Linked DNA regions of Homo sapiens: region 2 is linked to region 1. The links are contacts of gene promoters, found by promoter capture Hi-C in blood cells and fetal thymus (Javierre and others, 2016). All regions are on one chromosome and are shown on one strand. The core of a region is centred on a gene start or on the middle of the fragment in contact, and the rest is flanking DNA. Distances in the headings are between cores, read along the strand shown.

What was found. The method cuts DNA at HindIII sites, captures the fragments that hold promoters and counts their contacts. A CHiCAGO score of 5 or more calls a contact.
Region 2: a contact is called between a fragment that was not itself captured here and the fragment with the promoter of FASTKD3 in region 1, in 1 of 17 cell types (fetal thymus). The highest score is 6.1, in fetal thymus.

What each region holds. Positions count from the first base shown.
Region 1 is chr5:7,863,451-7,870,280 of GRCh38, reverse strand. It overlaps FASTKD3 (FAST kinase domains 3), which reads left to right and starts at 1,250. Exons shown (of 7, transcript NM_024091.4): 1 at 1,250-1,302; 2 at 2,085-3,635; 3 at 4,298-4,383. The coding sequence starts at 2,198. MTRR (5-methyltetrahydrofolate-homocysteine methyltransferase reductase) reads right to left here and starts at 1,133. Exons shown (of 15, transcript NM_002454.3): 1 at 1,066-1,133. RefSeq lists silencers at 631-680, 741-790, 801-1,240. The HindIII fragment of the contact is 2,367 bases long and covers 314-2,680 here.
Region 2 is chr5:1,802,256-1,809,085 of GRCh38, reverse strand. NDUFS6 (NADH:ubiquinone oxidoreductase subunit S6) reads right to left here. Exons shown (of 4, transcript NM_004553.6): 2 at 6,712-6,765. Among named protein-coding and RNA genes, the nearest start is that of NDUFS6, 4.3 kb to the right of the region's middle. The HindIII fragment of the contact is 2,204 bases long and covers 4,479-6,682 here.

The sequences.
Region 1 (6,830 bases), core at 1-2,500:
TTGGTTCTTATTTGATCCTAACGCTAAACAAACTAATCATAGTACTAAAGGTAACTGAAGCACATACTCTCCTTCATTATTTAATGCAAATCAAAAATATGTGAGTGTATGGGCATATATACAAACGGGTGCATATAACGAAAAAATATTTCCAATCCACTTAAACATTTTACTAACACGTTTTTCCGCAAGAGATAAGCAGTAGTAAAACAAACGACACTCACAGATTTTTTTCCATACTCATCTAACGGCTAAAATTGGTGGGCTGTCAATTTGCAGAGACAGATTTAAACTGAAACCCAAACCAAAAGCTTGGCTTTCGGTGAATGAACCGCCCAGAACGGCACCTGGCATGAAACTGGTACTCGATAAGTTATCTGAATGAGTGAATAAACAATATGAAAACACTACACATTGACAGCTCACAGAAAACGGTGGAAACGATAATGAAAACCTTACTACAGCTAAAATTTCTATCACTTCCCATGAAACACACATCCTGAGGGCTTCCCAGGATCAATCAACCCCTCATCCCTGCTACTGCCCCACAATCCGGCACCACCTTCCCACGACTCTCAGCGGAGGCCCGGGCCCCAGCAGCCCCGGAAGCGGCGCGGAGGCGGTGGGCAGAGCTCACGGCCGCGGGCAGAACTCACGGCCGCGTCCCGCCGGGTGGGCGCTCGGAACGTCCCGGGTTCCCCGGAGCGCGCCGCCCCAACCCGGCATGTTCCCCAGTTCCCCGCGTCCCCGAGTGCGGTTTCCCTAGGCCTGGAAAGCGCCTAGAACCAAAGGCAGAACATGAGGAGAGACCCCACGCCGCCCAGGGGCCTCCCGCGGCAGAGGCCGACGCCGAGCCCAAGGACACGCTCCCGGGGACACCAAAGCCAAAGGCCAAAGGCCAAGTCCGAGCCCCAGCCCGCGCCCGCGGCGACCCCCGGAGGCCGAAGGGCGTGGGAACCACGGGCGCAAGCCGGCTGCCCACCCCCGCCCCGGGCCGCCTCTCCCAGGAGATTAGTGCAGGGCGAGCGGCCGGAATCCGGGAACCGTAGCCGACAGGCAGCTTACCCACGCCGCGCCAGCCGGGCACGAACCTGCACAACGCGACTTCCACCAACCTTGCGCCAGCGCGCACTGACGCAGCGCCCATGCTCGGTACCCAGGACCAATAGAAAGCTCCGAAGGGGACCTGGGCCAATCACATTGCGCCGCCCTGAGTCGTGCTCCCGCCCCGCGTTTGCTACGGAGGCCCACGACGCCCAGGCGCTTCCGCGACCACCCGGAGTGATTGCCCGGCAGAGCGCGGTAGGTGTCAACGCGGGGTCTCCGCGCAGTTGGTCCGGCTGGGTGTCAAAGACCTGGCCGGCTTTCTCCTCAGGCTGCGCCGCCCGGCCCGTGTCTCAGCGCAGGTCCCCGGGGCGCCGAGTTTGGGGGTGCTCGCCCCGCGGGTCCCTTTCATTCCTAGGAAAACGCGCCGCGGGGCCTCCCGTCTGTCTGTCTTGCACACACGTGTTGCCAAATCCCCCCGCACCGTCTTTAGATCTGGACTGGCCGCCCCACCTTCTCCCTTCATTGATCTATGTTTTGCTTTTTCTTTTCCTACCTTGTTTCCATTGACAAAGTAGACCCTTTCCTTCAACACTAACCTTCTCCCGACACCGAGGGGAAACCAACAGCTTAGGGCCTTTCCAGCGCGTTTTTACCCTTGCCTTGCTCTAACCTCGCCTAATTTTGCCCACTTTACCTGTTCTTTGATTTCTATCCAAATGCAATTTCTTCCTTCAACCAACATTTAAGGGCCACCCTTAAGAGCTACATTGCCTGAGTTTGAACCCTAGCTCTGCCACTTAACCACCTGCATAAACTGGGCAAAGTAACTTTGTGCTTCAACTTCTTCCTCGTGTAAAATGATAGTAAAAGTACTGAATCTGTGTAAGTTAATAGAATACCTACAACAGTGTTTAGCAAGTAATAGCGATTGTTATTGTTCAATGTCAGCCACTCTTCTAACTCTAGGATGCAGAGACTTTGCCCCTCTGGTGTTTATATGTTAACCATCCTTTTTTTTTTTTTTTTTTTTTTTCCAGATACTCGTTTGTAGTTTCATAAACATTGATGTTGGGTCAATCATGTTCTCAATGTATTTAACCATGTGTTTTTAAATTTTTTAATTTAGTTATCAAATTGAGAATCTGATGGTATGGCATTAATCACCTTGAGGAAGAACCTTTATCGTTTATCTGATTTTCAGATGCATAGAGCTCTGGCTGCTTTAAAAAATAAACCTCTAAATCATGTTCACAAGGTAGTCAAGGAGCGTCTGTGCCCTTGGTTGTGTTCACGACAACCTGAGCCTTTCGGGGTCAAATTCCATCATGCCCATTGTAAAAAGTTTCATTCGAAAAATGGAAATGACCTTCATCCACTCGGTGGACCAGTGTTCTCTCAAGTATCTGACTGCGACAGGCTTGAACAAAATGTTAAAAATGAGGAGAGTCAGATGTTTTACAGGAGACTGAGCAACTTGACTTCATCAGAAGAAGTGCTAAGTTTTATAAGCACGATGGAAACCCTGCCTGACACTATGGCAGCAGGAGCTTTACAACGAATTTGTGAAGTGGAAAAAAAGGATGGTGATCAAGGGCTGCCAAAAGAAATACTGGAGAATAGCATCTTTCAAGCTTTATGCTTTCAGTTTGAAAAGGAGCCCTCACAGCTGTCAAACACTAGTTTAGTGACTGCTTTGCAAGCTCTGATTCTGTTGCATGTGGATCCTCAAAGTAGCCTGTTGCTGAACCTGGTGGCAGAATGCCAAAATCGTCTCAGAAAAGGTGGCATGGAAGTTCGCAATCTTTGTATTCTTGGGGAAAGTCTGATTACACTGCACAGTTCAGGTTGTGTGACACTAGAACTCATTATAAATCAACTTCAAGGTGAAAAATTGGAAACATTTACCCCGGAGGATATTGTGGCCCTTTATAGAATCTTGCAGGCATGTACTGAAAAAGTGGATGAACACCAAACATTTTTAAATAAGATAAACAACTTTTCCCTATCAATAGTTTCCAACCTGAGTCCTAAATTGATTAGCCAAATGCTCACTGCCCTGGTGGTTCTTGATCAAAGTCAAGCATTTCCTCTGATTATAAAATTGGGCAAATATGTCGTGAGGCATGTCCCACATTTCACTAACGAGGAGCTTAGGAGAGTCTTGGAGGCGTTCATATATTTTGGGCACCATGACACATTTTTTACAAAAGCCCTAGAGCATCGTGTAGCTGCGGTGTGCCTCACGTTGGATCCTGAAGTTGTCTGCAGGGTCATGGAGTACTGCAGTAGAGAACTGATTCTTTCAAAACCCATCCTCAATGCAGTGGCAGAAACTTTTGTTTGCCAAACAGAAAAATTTTCACCTCGTCAGATTTCTGCCTTAATGGAACCATTTGGGAAACTCAATTATTTGCCACCAAATGCCTCTGCTTTATTTAGAAAGCTGGAAAACGTGCTATTCACTCATTTCAATTATTTTCCACCCAAATCATTATTGAAACTTCTTCATTCATGTTCACTTAATGAATGCCATCCAGTCAACTTTCTGGCAAAAATATTCAAGCCTCTTTTCCTTCAACGGCTGCAAGGTGAGTTGGTTATAAATTCTGACAGTTGGAAAAAAGTAACCTTTGAACTGGCAGTGGTTTCAAGTCACATATAAAGGCAATATGTTGCCTTTAGTTTTTCTTCCATAGTGATCCGAAGATGAGACCTGAAGTTAACAGATGCTGGCATAAACACAGTTAAAGCATGCTAGGAAATCATGTAGAGGGAAGAAAGCTGTCTCAGATAAACTGACTTTTGCCTTATCTGAGAAATTGCAGCATTCTTAGGAGATATGGTAATGGCAGTGGAAATAGCCACATTAACATGTTAGAACTTTTGATGAGTGAGCAACTGTATCTTTTTTTTTTTTTTTGAGAGGATGGTATTATTCATCTTAATTCAAGGCCACCCAAATATGTCAAATTTCCGGAACTCCATAGTTAAAGGAAATTTCCACTAATTCTGTGAACATATTTTATCTCTTTTAATTGTATTCTGTAGCTAGGAGCTTGGGTTCTTGGAAGTCAATTTCATTGGTGGCAAGAGGAGGGCATAATTAATTCTAACAAGTTCATTTCATAGTGTCATTTAAAAATAGAATACTTCTGTCTGGAGTGTGTAAATTGATGTTGAATGTTCATGATGTTCTCTCATACATACCTCAATTCAGACGTAACTATGACTGGGATGCTTTCTGTTTCAGGTAAAGAATCTCATTTGGACACATTGAGTCGGGCACAACTGACCCAACTTTTCTTAGCCTCAGTCCTGGAATGCCCTTTCTATAAGGTAAAAGCATGAACTATATGTGGCTTTATTTCCCCATGGGTGCAGTTTCCTTTTAAGTTCCTTTACTTCTGATCTGTCTCAATAACCTGAAAAAGCAGAATTTCATTTACTTGGAGTCAGTTGCCACCAGATAGGCTTTTCTTTGATAAATGGACCCCATTTTTGTGTTCTTGTTCTTGAAGGAACAATTTCCTGCTGTTTAAGATTTCTTAGGAGGTTTTATCAAGTGCTGCAGGCATGTGAGTTACAGTATTTCTCCATTCTCTCTGAAGGTTTTACAGGGTTTTAGTACTAGGTTTACTACTAGGTTTCCCATAGCTGTTTGTTATCAAAGTGTGAATGTCTGGACTGAACAAATACCTAAATTATTTGCAAGTACAGTATATTTTTAAGCCAAGCCAGAAATTTCACTTTTATCTAATAGAGTTTAGTTTATCTAGAGTTCGCTCTTCCCATAAAGACCTATAAAGATTTATCCTATTACCTATCACATTCCTTATGTAGAATCAGAAATAGCACACCAGACTATGACATTCTCTCTCTGCTTCTCTCTACTTGACTCTGAATCATAGTTTAGAGTATCTGATTTTTGAAATAAGGTAATAAGAATGGAAAAATACCCCTTTTTTAAAACAGCTTAGACAGTACTAAGTTATATAAAGATAAATAATAGTTAACCCCGATCTCTTACCATTTCTAAAGGAACAGTATTAAAAGCAGTTTCTACGCCCAAATGTATACAGATACATAAACACTGTCTATTTTTTTTCTCTTTTCAAGGAATGAGACTCACTAATCAAAGTACAATTTGCTTTTATGCGCAGTATATCATGGCCATCCCTCGAGGCCAGTGCATACAGATCACATGCATTCTTTTTAGAAAGGCATGATATTTCATGGTGTTTATTCTACTATTGATGCACTTGGAGGTTTTTGCAACTTTTGTCTCTATCGGGAATGCTATAATAAACATTCTTGCAAATCCTGTCATACTAGAGCCTTTTTGGTTTTTTTCATATATAAACTAGATTCCCAAAAATGTGATTAGTGGATTAATTTTTGATGGATACTGGCAGATTTTTTTTCCCTAATAGTTACAGATGTCACATTTCCCCAGCAATGAATGAAGGTGGCCATGTCTCCTCCACTTCTATTGCAGTGTGTTAGTAGTCTCTTTAATTTGTGTTACTCAACTACATGAAAGAGGATATCATATCATATATTTAAGTTGCATTTTAATGAGCATTAATGAAGTTTAGCATATTTTCAAATATGTGTTGGCCATTTACATTTCTTTTGAATTGCCTTTCTACACCTTAATTTATTTCTGTTGGATGGTTTGTCTTTAAGGACTCATTGTAAAACAGATATTAACTATTATGAATGTTGTACATATTTTCCCGATTTGTACTCTTTTATTACTTTTTAATATTACTTATGATGTATTTTTAAATGTTCTGTAGTCGAATCTGTCTTTTATGACTTCCGAGGTTCCTATCTCAAGAGCATGAATATTTTACATTTTTAAAAATAATATCTTTTAAATTTTATTTAGATCTTTGATCTAAAAGTAAAATTGAATTTTTATTTATGTATTCTAATTAACAAAAATTGTATATACTTATTATGTTCATGTTGTTTTGAAATATGTATACATTGTAGAATGGCTAAATCAAACCAATTAACATGTGTATTACCTCCATATCTATCATTTTATTTTGTGGTAAGAATATTTAAAATGTACTCTTGCCGTGCGCAGTGGCTCATGCCTGTAATCGCAGCACTTTTGGAGGCCAAGGCGGGTGGATCACCTGAGGTCAGGAGTTCGAGACCAGCCTTGCTAACATGGTGAAACCCTGTCTCTACTAAAAATACAAAAAATTAGCCGGGCATGATGGCACACGCCTGTAGTCCCAGCTACTCTGGACTCTGAGTTAGGAGAATCGCTCAACCCAGGAGGCGGAGGTTGCAGTGAGCCGAGGTCGCGTCATTGTACTCCAGCCTGGGCAACAAGAGTGAAACTCTGTCTCAGAAACAAAAACAAAAACAAACAAAAAAAAAGGTAAAAAAGTACTCTCAGCCATTTTCAAGCACGCAATCATTCTTATTAACTATAGTCAGCATGTTGTACACCTGGAATTTATTAGCATCTGTCATGGATGACAGAAGTTTAATTTAGTTATTTTCCAAATAAATAACCATTTTCTCCAGCATCGTTTATTATATTGCTATCCTTTTCTTCCTAAACTGGAATGTCATTTATATCACATTTTCCATTACAGATTGAGTATCCCTTATCCAAAATGCTCAGGACCAGAAGTGTTTCAGCTTTCAGATTTTTTCATATTTTAAAATATTCTCATTATATTTACCAGTTCAGCATCCCTAATTCAAAAATTTGAAATCCAGAATGCTTCATGAGCATTTTCTTTAAGCAGCCTGTCTGT
Region 2 (6,830 bases), core at 4,331-6,830, 6.1 Mb after region 1:
AAGTCCTATTGTGTCAAACTGAGATTACATCTATTAAAGATAAAACATAAAATATGTGATTCTGTGACACAGCATCAAAACCAACGCAGAAGGGAAAAGTCCACCAGCTGGATCATCGACACTGTAGAATACCGACCCCATTCATGGACATTTAAAATAAAAGTTTAAAATAAAGTAAAAGCTCAGTTCAATTATTTAGAACATCAGGCATTCTGAACATGAATGCCAATAATTATTTAAGCTAAACGTGTGTATACATGTCTATATAAGTATATAATTCTTAAATCACAGGCAAAACTGAAGTTTTCATTCAAATTAATTTTTAAACTAAGTAACTTTATAGAAAATGCTCTAAAAACCACAATTGAGCTGTCTGTACAACATGTTCAAACTTGCTTTGAGAATGTTGGAATCCAGTGACTAATTTTGCCAGTGCCTTGGAAGAGAAAGAACCACAAGACACAAAGACACAATAGAGAAGCAAAGACGAAGCTGGGGAGCTGCATGAGGGAGGAAATAAAGCCCATCTCGCCAGCTCACAAACAAAGCCACCAGCATGTGAACCTGGGGCTCGTGAATTCACAGTTCCAACTATTTTCCTCTGGGTCCTGGGATAAATAAACCTCACTTTATAACCATTATTTCTGACAGTCCAAGCCTTTCTAAAGGAAGCAAAGACCCACGGTTCTTATCCATCCAGAAGATTTCTTTTAAAATCCGATTGCCTTCACTCCACTATAAAGATGGCGTATTTGGGAGGGAAGCTCAGGAGGAGGAGCATGCAGAAGCGGGAAGCCACACAAAAGCTCTGGAGAGCAGCCATGGCGCACATCGCACCGCCCGCGTCTCAAACACCCCCTAAAGGACGCCCAGGTTGCTTCAAGACAAGAGAGACTCAGGCAAACCTCCCCTCTTAAACCCTCTAAGGATGAACCTGGAAGCAAGCACAGAGCTCCACCTCTGCCACCAACCAGATGACCTGCAAAGGCGGAGGGTGGAATTCCGAGGCCCCTCAATTCAATCTTCCTCTCACGGAGGACCTTCTCAGCCACCACTGTCTGGCTGGGGGCCTCACCCTAGCACCCATCCCCGACTCCCAGTCCTGTCTCCCACCTGGAGCTCCAGCGGCACCACAAGGGCACTTTCACAGCTCCCTCCTGGTGACGCCACCTCTTCCTCCTGCCCCCCAAGTCCTAGGAATAGTGGCTGCTTCCTGCAGCTACTGACCCCTGGGTACCTCAGCACTCCCTCTCAGCTCTCTGGTGGCATCCCTCCTGTGACCAACAGTGTGTGTGTGCACGCACGAGAGCCAACATGGTTCGGGTGGTGCTGCGCTGGCCTCAAGAGATGGCTCAATGTAGACGAAAGATGTCACAAGTTTCTTCCACTGCTGATCCGAGGAGTGCGCTTGTCCTGGGTGATAACACAAGTTACCACCACGGGTGTGCAGAGCCTCTGGAGGTGCCGCGTGGGCCCAGCCTCAGCCTCACTTGCTTCCCCACCCGAGTGTGCCCTGCCCTGCCGGCCTCTTGGGAGAAATAAGAATGAGCGACACCAGCCACAGAAGCCTCAGGGAGGAACCTCTGGTCAATTCCTGCGTGGGCCTGAAGCCACTTCCCTCTTAATTTTTTTTTAATTGTGGTAAAATACACATAACATAAAACTTGCCATCTTTACCATTTCTAAGGACACCACGTATATTCACATTATTGTGCAACCATCACCACCACCCATCTCCAGAACCTTCCACCTTCGTAAACTGAAACTCCATTTCCATTCAACACTAACTCCAAATTCACCCCCCGCCCCCGGCAACCACCAACTACTTGCTACCTCTAAGAAGCGACTGTTCTGGTCCCCCGTATCAGAGGAATCACACAGTGTTCACACAGTACCTCTGAGTACCTCACGCAGTACCTCTGAGTACCTCACGCAGTACCTCTGAGTACCTCACGCAGTACCTCTGAGTACCTCATACAGTACTTCTAAGAAGCGACTGTTCTGGTCCCTCGTGTTAGAGGAATCACGCAGTCTGCTTCTGTGACTGGCTCACTTCACTGAGCGCAACGTCCTCCAGGCTTATCCGTGTTGTGGGGCGTGTCAAGCGTTCTTCCTTAAGGCTGAATAATATTCCACTGTCCATGGACAGATCACATTTTGCTTATCCGTTCAGCTGACAATGGACCCCCAAACTGCTTCCAGATTTGAGTTATAATGAATAATGCTGCTATGACACGAGTGTACCCCGGACCCCGCTTTCAGTTCTTTTGGGCACACGCTCAGAAGTGGAACCGCTGGATTGGATGGAAGTCCTAGTTTCAACTTTTTGAGGAACCCACACGCTGTTTTCCTTCACGGCTGTGCCATTTTACATTCCCAGCAGCAAGGCACAAAGTTTCAGTTGCTCCACGCCGTCACCCACGCTTGTTTTCTGTTTGGAGGGTCTTGGTAGTTTTCCTCTCTCGTGAGCACTACTCAATTATTTCCATTAACGAAATCTACACACTCTTCTCAGAAGGATAAAACTTCACATTATCGCAACAAAACAGCACGCCAGGTAGACATTTGCACCGCGTGCAACTGCTCCTAATCCTGGTGGCACCACGCACCTTGAAGTCTGCTACTGAAGAACTGAGGGCCAGGCAGGTGAGGCCACAGGGTCACAACTGGACTCAACCCTGCCAGCCTAGGTGTCTCAGAAAACGTGCAGAATCTCGCTGACCCAAACGCCCAGCTGTGGGCTGTGCGGGTCAGGGAGTGACTCCGCCCTGCCGAGCATCTGAGGAGAGAATCCATCCCACTGGCGGGCAGATGAAGGCACAAGCTGAAGCCCCCAGCTGTTCCGTGATCCTGACACACACAGGTGGAGAGGGGTGGCACAGAGTCGCACTCAAGGGATCCCAGCCTCCTGATGTTCCGGGTTTGCTGCCTAATTCCTTCTTTTCAAAAACTAAAAGTAAAGACCTTGTGTATAGACACTAACGTTTAACTTCAGTATTTTAAAAAAATCTAAAAGTGAAGCCTGCCCTCATGGTGGTGGCGAAGGCAGCAGCAGAGTAAGGCGAACACACACTAGAGGCTTCCCTGGGACAGGCGCTGCTCCAAGCCTTTCCTCATCTACACGGACTCAGTGCCCACGAGCCTACAAGCTAAGTCACTGAAGCACACAGCCCTCATAAGCCCATCAGCGCAGGAGCCTGAATCCGGATGCGGCCAGGCAGGGCAGCCCCAGCTACTAACCAAAAAAGCAAATGATGTCGCCAAGTACCTGGCTACCAGGCTGTTGTTATTGCTGTTATTATTACCACACCTCACTGCAGACCTCCCCCAGTCATCCCTTCTATTAGGGGACAAGTCATATCTGCTTTTAATTTTACTTGTACGACTATAAAGCAATGAAAATATTTCCATCAACAGCAGAGAAATACCTGGTCACTTCCAAGTTTGTTCCAGTCCCCCATCTGACTTATGTGGCCCCAGAGTGCCACCTGCTCCAGGACCATGTGAGGCCTGACTTCTGGCTGGGGGTGGCTGGCACATTCTTTAGCACGTGAGGAGTCTCCTCACAGGCAGGCCCGTCACAGGCCCAGGGGCCATGGATTCCTTTGAAGGTACCCCCGGTCAAAGCTGGGCAGGAGCCACACAAAGATACTTTCCACTGTTTTTCTGCAAAGACCAGCTCAATTATCTAGCTTCCTGCTATGCTTGTTCTACAGGTGAAGTTCAGATTCAGTTTATTTTTTTCTTTTTTTTCTGGAGATAGAGTCTTGCTCTGTTGCCCAGGCTGGAGTACAATGGCATGATCTCAGCTCCCTGCAGCCTCAACCTCCCAGACTCAATGACCCTCCCACCTCAGCCTCCCACGTTGCTTGAGCTACAGGCATGTGCCACCATGCTAGGCTAATTTTTATATTTTTTGTAGACACAGGGTTTCACCATATTGCCCAGGCTGGTCTTGAACGCCTGGGCTCAAGTGATCAGCCCACCTTGGCCTCCCGAAGTGTTGGGATGACAGGCATAAGCCTACTGTGCCTGGCCCAGTTTACTTCTTAAAGTATTACTTGACAAAACTAGAGGACAGTACGATCAGGGGCTGCCAGGGGTTGGGCAGAGGGAGGGATGAACAGGCAGAGCACAGAGGATTTTTAGGGCAGTGAACTCGGTACAACACTGTCACAGTGAATACATGTCATTACACATCTATCCAAACCCTAGAACATACAACATTAAGAGTGAACCTGTGGACTTGAGTTAGTAATAATGTATGAGTATCAGCTCATCAACTGTGACACAGGCAGCACACTAATGAGAGATGGCAGTAAACAGCAGAAACTGAGCTGGGGGGCTGTGAAAACCCTACTTTCTTCAGTTTTTCTGTAAATCTAAAAGTGTTCCAAAAAATTAAGTCTCTCAGAAGCCAAACAACTACTACTAAAAATAGTACTAAACACCAAATTTGTGTTGAAAGAAGGAAAGCTTGGGCAGGATGCCCACTCATCATGTTATCAACATGCCTTGAACCTCCAAGGTGTGAGGCCAAGACGTGCCCTGGACACTCAGGATGCTGAATGGGGGAAGGCACTGGAGGCTAGGCCGGCTGGAGCGTTGAGGTCACAACCAGGACGCCCTGGGTGAGCTGCCGGTCACAGACACTACTATCACACTATCCCGTACCCACCCCTCACTGGCTTCGCCAATCCTGATTCTGTTTGGTTTAAGTTGTTTCCCACTACCCTATGCTACACCAACCAGAAACCAGAAGCTACACAAAGAATGTTCAGCAGAGAGGCGTTTGTGACAGGGACCCACATACTTGCTTCGTCACTACAAGAGCTGAGATAGGGAGCTGGGCTGGAAGCCAGATTGCATGAATGAGCCCAAGGGCTTCAGGACCAATCTGCTCCAGAACTGCTCAATCTGGGGCTCCTACCTTGCCCCCACGACCGTGCCATAACACCCACAAAGCAAGGATGTAGAGTCCAGCCACTACCTCAGTAACAACCACCCATCGATGCCCAGGAAACCTCCGTCACCACGGTCACTGCCAAAAGAAACCAAAGGGCCTGCGAACCCTCCCCACATCCATCGGTTTCTCCCCTTCTCCACGGTCACCACTAAAAGAAACCATACCGCATCCACACTAAGAGAAACCTCCCCTTCTCCACGATCACTGCCAAAAGAAACCAAAGGGCCTGCAAATCCTTTCAACATCCATCGGTTTCCACCTTCCAAATGTCAAGTTCATATACCTAACAAGAATGCCCAGGACAGCCTGCACACGGAAGAAATGTCCCATTCGCAATGCCATGAGCTCCTTTGTGTGAATCACTGGGATACAGCATTGGAGAATGTGGCACATGGAACAGATGCTTCTACTGGGAATACACTAACAATTCAAACAACAAACAGAAAAGGGTTTCTGAGGATGGAGAGAAAGAGCACTTACCCTATACACCACTTACTCGACAACTGACAGTGTGATATCACTGGAGACTTATGATTCAATTAAAAATATTCACATGGTTCCATTTCACAAATGAGAAAACTGAACCCATGCTGTGATTCAACCTCACAATTTTTAGACTGCAAGTCCACACAGCTTCTACTCCGAGAGGCAAACCCACCAGACACAAGCCCCTCTCCACCACCATGATCCTGGTAGACATCACTAATCAATCATGGCACACTCTTCCACTGAATGTGCATCAGGCCTCAGGATCTTTCTCAACCCAACACTCAAGTGGCATTGCCAAATAATCAACCACTATAAAACAAACTTTTCTGACACCCACCCATCAAACCACACAACAGTGAACCAGCTGAATTTTGAGAATGTGAATTTATAGTCAATTCATGATCATGTGAGCTTTTCTGGAATGCCCTGTAGCTCTGGAATAGACGTACAAAAACTACACACTGGGAATGGATAACGTAACCAAGATTGAAGGAGAAGGGAAAATACATGATTTAGGGATAGCTACGGTGTTAACAAGAAGAACACCAGGCTAACCAAAGTGGGAAAAAGAATGAATAAGGTGGCTGTGAAGGACACTTCACAGCATCCTTCAGGAAGCAAATTCAGGAATCATGGAGGCATGCCTGATCTAATTACGAATTCAGGAGCTCATTGACATGAGTGATAGAGAAGGAGTCAGGTAAAAAAAAAAAATAGGCTGATTTAGGCAGAAGGATTCTAATTTCAACATTCTTTCTCCAGTGGTCACTCACAGGCACCTGAACTGATCTTCCCTTACAATGCATAGAGCTAACAGACCCACTAAGGGAAGAAAAACTCATGTGCCATTTTCAGCTTGTCAGTGTAAGTCCCTGTAAAAAACACACACTAATTTATTTGGTGAAAACTATAAAAAACACACCTCCAGGTGGTTAAAAGAATAATTTTTTTAAAGTTGATATGATTTACTTAAATCTGAGAGTCTCAGGAGAATAAGGGACAAGAATTTTAAAAAAGATCACTTCCATTTATATGCAAACCAGAACTACGGCTACAATGTTATGTATTTCAGGGGGAAACAAGTCAGAAATAGACACAATTAAGATTTTAAGAAAGGAAGAACCCCATCCAGAACTGTTAGGGTGCTTGCAATATGGGGAAAATTTATTTAAATCTTATATATTAATTTTTATTTCTTGTTGGTTACATAAAAGTTTTAGGAAAGCTTACCTCTCTTCACTAGATTTTTTACTCACCTCTTTCTGACGACCTACAAACCGAATTCTCCTGTAGTCTTTATCATCATAAACCTGGAAAAAAACAAAAAGACCATGTGTGACTTTTACGGCCTAATTCTGAAAGTCACTTCATATCA